2 separate regions of the Homo sapiens genome follow, and region 2 is linked to region 1. The links are contacts of gene promoters, found by promoter capture Hi-C in blood cells and fetal thymus (Javierre and others, 2016). All regions are on one chromosome and are shown on one strand. Each heading gives the region's core, a stretch centred on a gene start or on the middle of the fragment in contact. The rest is flanking DNA. Distances are from core to core; before and after follow the strand shown. Region 1 holds the start of G6PD (glucose-6-phosphate dehydrogenase). Region 2 holds the start of GDI1 (GDP dissociation inhibitor 1).

Region 1 (5,315 bases), core at 1-2,500:
AGATACCTAGCTGCCAAACTATATGTGAGGCATTTCCGAAGAATTTAACGACCTCGATAGAGCGCAGTCAAGTTTGGTGAACAGAATATGTCTCTGAACTAGAGGAGTCCTCACACAAGGAGTAGGGTCAGACCCCGCAGTGGAGGAGGAGGGAGGAGTAGAAACAGTCCAGCTCGCCGCCCAAGTAACCTGGGTCCTGAATCGGCCCGCCTTGGCCAGTGCTCCAGAAGCGCGGAGCAGGAACGGGCTGGGGCCCAAAAAAGAGGGGGGAGCCTGAACGTCCGGGGGAAGTTTCGGAGGCGGCGGAACGCCCACGGATGGAACCCTGTCTTTGGGGAAAAGGACCACACCTGTCAGCAGAGTCCGTCAGACGTGAGAAGGGTGGGAGCGGCGGACTGTGAACGCTGGTAGGGCCCCGGCGCTCCGAGAAAGTCCCAGTTTCGCGGTCGCCCTTCCCTACCACGCTTCCGGCTTCCGGTGTCATAGCTGTGGGATCCGGAAGTAAAAACACAAGCCCCGCCCCCGAGAACTCGGGAAGCCGGCGAGAAGTGTGAGGCCGCGGTAGGGCCGCATCCCGCTCCGGAGAGAAGTCTGAGTCCGCCAGGCTCTGCAGGCCCGCGGAAGCTCGGTAATGATAAGCACGCCGGCCACTTTGCAGGGCGTCACCGCCTACACGCCCCCTCGTCTCTCGGACGGCGGCGTCTAGCCTCGGGGCGCTCGGCCGCCCCGCCCTCTCCGGGGGAGGAATCAAGAAGAGACTGCCCAATAGGGCCGGCTTGACCCGCGAACAGGCGAGGGTTCCCGGGGGAGTGGCGCGGCAGAAGGCCCCGCCCAGGAGCCGAGGGACAGCCCAGAGGAGGCGTGGCCACGCTGCCGGCGGAAGTGGAGCCCTCCGCGAGCGCGCGAGGCCGCCGGGGCAGGCGGGGAAACCGGACAGTAGGGGCGGGGCCGGGCCGGCGATGGGGATGCGGGAGCACTACGCGGAGCTGCACCCGTGCCCGCCGGAATTGGGGATGCAGAGCAGCGGCAGCGGGTATGGCAGGCAGCCGGCGGGCCGGCCTCCAGCGCAGGTGCCCGAGAGGCAGGGGCTGGCCTGGGATGCGCGCGCACCTGCCCTCGCCCCGCCCCGCCCGCACGAGGGGTGGTGGCCGAGGCCCCGCCCCGCACGCCTCGCCTGAGGCGGGTCCGCTCAGCCCAGGCGCCCGCCCCCGCCCCCGCCGATTAAATGGGCCGGCGGGGCTCAGCCCCCGGAAACGGTCGTACACTTCGGGGCTGCGAGCGCGGAGGGCGACGACGACGAAGCGCAGGTAACCGGCCGGGCGGGCGCCGCGCAGGCGGAGGAGCGTACTGTCCCGCGCTGCGCCGCGCGGCGGTAAAATACACGCTGTTTGTTGTGCTTGAGAACCGAGCAGAATCGAGAGGGTCTTAACCAATCCCTTTATACCCCGCACCTCCTCTCTTGAGCCCCTGAGACCCCGAGAGCGAAGGGGACTTGCCGACCGGGGTCACCCAGCTTGGCAAGGGGAGGGCTGGAGCTGAACTCCAGCATCTGCACCATCTCCCATGCTCCAGGTCATTGTGGAGTTCCCGCTACAGTCGGGAATGAGATGGTCCTGGGCACGCAGTTCCATGCCCCACAAGGATTTTACTCGGTTGTCCAGAATTGATGCTGTAGTCGGAATACACCAATGCTTTGAGTAATTTTGTAATGTACACCCTGAATGAAGGCTGCCTAGGAGAGAGTGGCTGGAGCCCAGAGCCAGCAGTTTCTAACCCATCAACCACTCCCCAATGCCCAGCCGTTCACAAGGAGTGATTTGGGCAATCAGGTGTCACCCTGGTGTGAGACCCCAGAGGAACTCTCAAGAAAGGGGCTAACTTCTCAATGCTCTCCTGTTCTTCTGCCTTGTTAACGAGCCTTTCTTCCACCAGACAGCGTCATGGCAGAGCAGGTGGCCCTGAGCCGGACCCAGGTGTGCGGGATCCTGCGGGAAGAGCTTTTCCAGGGCGATGCCTTCCATCAGTCGGATACACACATATTCATCATCATGGGTGCATCGGTGAGTATCTCCCAGGCCCCAATCTTAAAAGCCAGGAAGTGCCTGCTCCATGCCTCAGCTTTTCCAACTAATTGTTGCAGGGCCCCACAGGCTCTGCTAAGTTGAGCTCCTCCTCCCGCTCCTGCTAGTGCGCCAGGATCATCCCGGCTCTACCTGGTGTGCATATGCACTTGCAAGACTTTTTTTTTTTTTTTTTTTTGGAGACGGAGTTTTGCTCTGGTCGCCCAGGATGGGGTGCAGTGGCGCCATCTTGGCTCACTGCAACCTCGGCCTCCTGGGTTCAAGCGATTCTCCTGCCTCAGCCCCCCAAGTAGCTGAGATTACAGGCATGCACCACCACACCCGGCTAATTTTTGTATTGTTAGTAGAGACGGAGTTTCACCATGTTGACCAGGCTGGTCTCAAACTCCTGACCTCAAGTGATCCGCCCGCCTCGGCCTCCCAAAGTGCTGGGATGACAGGCATGAGCCACCACGCCCGGCTGCAGGACGTTTCTGAACCCTGTGCCTAGCCGCTGAATGTAGCCCTTAATCCTGGAGTTGCAGGCTCTTTAGGGACTGTCTAGATGGACTTCTTGGGGAAAACAGGGAATGCTATTCATTCTGTAGTTTTTTCAGACCTGTTCATGCCTTAACAAATGAGTTCCAAAGGCAGGATCTGAGGCCTGATCTCTGCCTCTTCACTAACACTTCAAGTTCCGTCGATACAAACACTTAGCTTTTCTTTGAACACTGTCTCTTTGCCTCAATTTCGAAAGCCTACCAAGGAGCTCTGCCTCACCCCACCTGGCCCCAATTGTCCAGCTTGTAGAACCGCCATTCTGCACTCATAGGAAAGACAAAAGAATAGTATAGCATGAGGATTTCCATGGGAGGGGAGGGAGGGGTGGTCCTAGGACAGCCATCGCCCGAGACTAGAGCACCCTCCCCTGTGTCCCATGGGGCAGTGAGACTGTGCAGGGGCTGGTGGAACAAGGGCTTCATCTCAAATTACACGTGGTCTCAGTTTTCACTTTTAACCCTGGATGCACTCAAGAATCTCTCTGCTCATTACTGTATGACCATCTTTGCCATTAACTTACCTTGTAACCTTGAGCAGGAGCTCTATCAAAACTAGTTAGTTCTTCCACATCGTGCGCCCCTCAGTGCTGGCTGAGCTCAGTGGTTCTTTGTTCACATAGAACAACGCGCTGTCACACTTTGTCAAACCTACTCCTTGACACCTTTGTACTTCTGATCAGAACTTAGAAAAGGAGAGCCAAAAGGGAATGAGGAGGCAGCCGAGGGAGAAGGGCTCTGCCAGTGGCAGAGTAAGGAGGGGCCATTGTCCTCTGACTCCCCATAAGCCTGAGACCCAGGAGAGGTACCAGGTGGAGCCCACAGTAGATTGGGCTTGGCCTCAGCCCCAGCCCCAGCCTGGTCCCCTCAGAAGAGCCATACCTGGCCGGGCACGGTGGCTCACGCCTGTATTCCCAGCACTTTGGGAGGCCGAGGCAGGTGGATCGCCTGAGGTCAGGAGTTTGACACCAGCCTGGCCAACATGGCGAAACCCAGTCTCTACTTAAAATACAAAAATTGGCTGGGCGCAGTGGCTCACATCTGTAATCCCAGCACTTTGGGGGGCCAAGGTGGGCAGATCACAAGGTCAAGAGATCGAGACCATCCTGGCCAACATGGTGAAACCCCATCTCTACTAAAAATACAAAAATTAGCTGGGCGTGGTGGTGCGTGCCTGTAGTCCCAGCTACTCAGTAGGCTGAGGCAGTAGAATCGCTTGAATCAGGGAGTCAGAGGTTGCAGTGAGCTGAGATCGCGCCACTGCACTCCAGCCTGGCGACAGAGCGAGACTCTGTCTCAAAACAAAACAAAACAAAAAGGCCGGGCGCAGTGGCTCACGTCTGTAATCCCAGCACTTTGGGAGGCTGAAGCGGGTGGATCATGAGGTCAGGAGATTGAGACCATCCTGGCTAACATGGTGAAATCCCGTCTCTACTAAATAAAAAATTAGCCAGGCCTGGTGTGGGCACCTGTAGTCCAGCTACTCAGGAGGCTGAGGCAGGAGAAAGGCGTGAACTCGGGAGGCGGAGCTTGCAGTGAGCAGAAATCGCAACACTGCATTCCAGCCTGGGTGACAGAGTGAGACTCCATCTCAAAAAAAAAAAAAAAATAACAAAAATTAGTTAGGTGTAGTGGCACCCATCTGTAATCCCAGCTACTTGGGAGGCTGAGGCAGGAAAATCGCTTGAACCCAGGAGGTGGAGGTTGCAGTGAGCTGAGATGGCACCATTGCACTCCATCCTGGGTGACGGAGTGAGTGAGACTCCATCTCAAAAAAATAAAAATAAAAAGAGCCATACCTGCATCAGCCACAAACCTTAACAGCCAGGACTCTGACCGTTAAACCCTTAGTCCAAGAAGCAGACTGGAGGAGAAGGTAACTGAGGTTGCTTTCTCCATCCCCACCCCATGCTGTCACAAGGCACTGCAACAGAGCAACCCAGGCCACAATGATAGCTTATGACTCCTGGCCTTCAGCTCTTATTAGACACCTCATTGAGAGCATCCAAGCTTGCTGTGTGAGTTGGAGCAAGTGTCTTCCTTTTCCTGAACCTCAGCATTTCGTGTAGCAAATGACAGCTTTTGAAACGAGGGCCCAGGGTCCTTAGGCTTTTCCAAGCTGATTTTGTCATTTCACTGCCTCCGCCTGTGGCCAGCTTCGGGTTGGGCAACTTTGTTTTGTTGAAATCAGTAGGGTTCCCCTTTGCTCTCCTCTGTTCTGAGAGTGACAACCTGAGGCTTTCAAAGCAGAAATAGGAAGTGCCAGCTCCAGCACTGTGGGTAGGGGACAAGGGGTCCTCTCTCTGAAGAGCCTCGTGGTTTGTTTTTTCCTCTTCCTGCTGTGGGGGAGATGGGAGGTGGCGTGCTCAGGCAGCACCTGGAACAGCTCCGGCTCCCAGGCTTCTTCCACGCCTGATGCCTCACTCGGTGCGGGAGGTAGGCAGGGTGGCACTTGAGGGCACGTGATCCTAGAATCTGCTGTTCCAGGAAAGCAGCCCATTCTCCGTTCATTGAGCAGACAGCGATTGGGTACTTCTGGGCCACAGCAGCCAGTCCCTGCCCTCCTCATGGGACCTATGTGCTATTGCGGCCAGGGAACCACGGCAAGTAAGCAGACCAGCAAGAGTTCAGGCTGACGTGTGTTTCAGAAGATACACATGGGCCCTGTGTCCCCAGTCCCCCAAAGCGCATAGATCCC
Region 2 (3,175 bases), core at 1-2,500, 110 kb after region 1:
CTGGCTAGTTGCCTCGCCTAAAATTGGGGTGATGGCTTCATCCGACCACACTCTCCATTGCAACCTTGCTGGGCAAAGGAGTCCCGTCCCCCTCACAAGGCGGAGAGTGAAATAACGGAGGCTTTGAGGGAGGCAGGGCATCCAGCAGACACAGGATGGCCTTCCAGTACCAACACGCCGAGAGGCATCTACCTACGCAGAGCCGCACAAAAAGGCGGATAAAACACAATAAGGCACAGAGAAGACCCAGCTGGACTGCAAAGGACACTCGAAAGGGAGGAAAAGAAAGGCTTAGCACAGTCCTTGAAATTGTAGGCCCCACCCTGGACTGCTCTTTCTTCAAATAGCAGGAGCCCCTGCCGCTGAGGAGGGGCATCTGGGCCTGGACCGAGGAAGAAGAGTCTCTGAGGGGAGTAGGCCAACGGGGTTTTCGGGGAAAGGGGGAAGATAAACACCCTCACCAGTCACTGTCACTAGCCCAAGGACAAAGGCTGCAGATGCTACCCAGCCTGAGGTCTCCATGGGCAACCGAGGTGGGGTTGCGGGAATGTGCTTACTGCCCCCACTGCTGTTCCTTCTGGAACATTCCCTGGATCCCCTGGCCCCAGAAGACGATGAGGAGGCGGGCTGAGGGCCCACTCTGGCGAGGCCCCCTGACCCCAGGTCCTTCTACTTCATCCCCACCGGGATTAGCGCAAGATGGGAACGGACGCTGAGAGGCAACGCTAGGCGGGCAATGGGTGCGGGCGACGGGTGGATGCCGTGATGGGTGGGGGCGATGGGTGGGCGGGGTCGTGGGCATCGGGCCGAGTGGGGGTGCGTTTTCCGGTCCAGCGGGCAGGGGTAGGGAAGATGGGAGGGCGCCGGGGGTCGGACCCGGGTAGCCCAGGAGGCGGCCAGGAAGGGGGCCTCTTCGGGGAGATGGGGTCATGGCAACGAGCAGAGGCGACGTCGCTGGGGGAGCAGCGGGGTGGGCACGGCGCCGGCTTTTCGGGGAGCGGAGCGCAGAAGATGGCAGTGACCAGAGGATGGGCCGGCGGCCGCATCATCGCGGGGGATGGCGAGGGCACGACGCAGGGCCAGGGGCGCCGGGGCCGCACTTACGGTGAGACCGGTCCCCAGCACGATCACATCGTATTCCTCGTCCATGGTCAGGCCTCGGTGCCAGCGCCCGCTCGGCTCCTCCTCCTCCTTCACCGCAGCAGTCGCCGCCGCCACCGCCGCCGCCGCCACCGCACTGGACCAAAGATGGCGGCGCGTCGGCCGTCGCCCGACCCCTCCGCCGCGTCAAAGAGTCCCGCCTCTTCCCGCGCCCCGCCGCAACCGGCAGGGGCCACCGCCTCCCCGGCTCGCCTCCCGGGAGGGCTGCCAGGGCCCGGGCCACAGCACCAGCGCGGCTCCGCGGGCGACGCTGCTCGCCGAGAGTCTAGAGAGGCGCGGGGCGGGGCGGGCGGGGCGGGCCGGCGGCCGGTGCTGCGGCCCAGGAAGAATCCGTGCGCGGGAGCCGCGCGCGCCCCGCCCCACCCGCCGCGCCCCGCCCCGCCCCGCCCCGCGCGCGCCCGCCCACCTCCCCACCCCCGCCCACCCCCCCGGGAGTCTCGGCGCGGCCCCGCGGCCGGGCGCGCGCCGCTGCGGCAGCCTGGGGCGGCCCCCTCACGACGCGAAGGCTGCCATTGTCACGACGGCCTCCTGAGACGCCGAAGCGCACCGGGACTCGGCCCGACCGCCCCTCCCTACCCTGAGCGGTTAGGGCCCAGCTTGCTAAAGCCCCTCCCGGTCTCCGCGGATGCCTCTTCGCCTCCCCCTCGCCAGGCTCCATCCTCCCGCATCCCTCCGGCGAGCACGCGCCTAAAGCCCAGCGCAGAAATGAGCGACAAGAGGCCCAACGCATGGCGACCCGCGTTTATTTTATTAGGAAGGAAACAACCAAGCACCCCATGCTCCTGCCCGGCACTCCCGGTGGGAACATGCCAAACAGCCGGCGATCGCACCCAGCCCACCTGTCGTGGAGGTCCCTTCCTTCTCAGGCCACAGAAATAAACCCGTGTACTTCTTATTGTTAGCACAACATCACCAGAAAACGATAACGACAGCCAAGCAGGACAGACAGTTAAGTAGTACTTCCACACTCCCAAACTCAGGGAGCCCTATAACCTTAAGGAGGGAGCATTTGCTACACAAAAGCACTATCCACAGCCAGGGATGATGTAGCCACAAGAATAAATAAGGAGAAAGGAGACCCTAGAATTCATGTCCCTTACGCCTCACAGCGACGAACCCTGGGAAGCTGGTTGGTCTAGCATCTACGCAGAATATGTACACCTTGTTGGGAGAGATGGGGGCAGCCCAAGAAAGCTCCTCAGCGGGCTGAAGAGGGAGCAAGATGGGCTGAGGGGAGCTTGCAGTTCATGCTGCAGTAGGAAGAGGGAAGCTCTTCAGTCCAGTGCGCTGCAGGGTGGGAAAGCAACAACACGGACACCGTCCCACCCTCAACCCCCCCACTGGCACAGGGTCACACAATCTGGGTCAAAGAAATAGTGGGGCCCTTGTGGTCATCAAAGCGATCCATGGTCTTGAGGCTGAGGATCATGTGCAGGCCATAGGTGAAGATGAAGAGCATGAACAGGGAGGTGAGCAGCCCCATCCAGATGCCGGGGGAGAAGAAGCTGGCACAGTCGCTGGCGTAGGAGAACTGCTCCCCCATTACGTTGAAAGCCTGGATCTGGCAGACACACAGACACGGGTCAGAAAGGACCGTTGGGAGGCCCAGCAAGAACTGGGACAGGGGCAGCGCAGGGACAGGACTCTCAACTACATGCCCAAGCCCAAGCCTCTCTTCGTCTCTCAACCACTAGCCTGGGCTCCCCCACCTGAAGCTGGGCCACGCCCGCTCCATACCTGGAAGTCCTGAAGCATCATCTGCCAGGGAGAGGGCTGCGTGCGGGCCACGAGGAGACTACCCTTCTTGCTCAGGCTGCTGACATACTCGCAGTGGAAGGAGTAGATGCTGGGCCCTGTGACCTGGGAAGCATTGAAGTAGGCGACGGAGCCATTGCTGTGGACTTCGAGGCGCTCCATGGTAAACCAGTGCCGGGCAGACACTGGGTAGAGGCGGTTGGCCAGAATGAACCTGGGGAAGGTGGCAGGGATGTCAGGTGAGCTGGGGAGGCTGGGG

What was found. The method cuts DNA at HindIII sites, captures the fragments that hold promoters and counts their contacts. A CHiCAGO score of 5 or more calls a contact.
Region 2: a contact is called between the fragment with the promoter of GDI1 here and the fragment with the promoter of G6PD in region 1, in 7 of 17 cell types (total CD8 T cells, naive CD8 T cells, non-activated CD4 T cells and 4 more). The highest score is 8.0, in total CD8 T cells.

Annotation. Positions count from the first base shown.
Region 1 is chrX:154,542,781-154,548,095 of GRCh38, reverse strand. G6PD (glucose-6-phosphate dehydrogenase) reads left to right here and starts at 1,250. Exons shown (of 13, transcript NM_001360016.2): 1 at 1,250-1,307; 2 at 1,933-2,060. The coding sequence starts at 1,941. It overlaps IKBKG (inhibitor of nuclear factor kappa B kinase regulatory subunit gamma), which reads right to left and starts at 476. Exons shown (of 10, transcript NM_001099857.5): 1 at 351-476. RefSeq lists enhancers at 89-368, 1,671-2,214, 4,827-5,315, 5,231-5,315 and a silencer at 809-1,368. The HindIII fragment of the contact is 7,888 bases long and covers 1-4,629 here.
Region 2 is chrX:154,435,229-154,438,403 of GRCh38, reverse strand. GDI1 (GDP dissociation inhibitor 1) reads right to left here and starts at 1,250. Exons shown (of 11, transcript NM_001493.3): 1 at 1,105-1,250. The coding sequence starts at 1,149. ATP6AP1 (ATPase H+ transporting accessory protein 1) reads right to left here. Exons shown (of 10, transcript NM_001183.6): 9 at 2,899-3,130; 10 at 1,888-2,722. The coding sequence ends at 2,513. RefSeq lists an enhancer at 1,218-1,718. The HindIII fragment of the contact is 14,364 bases long and covers 1-3,175 here.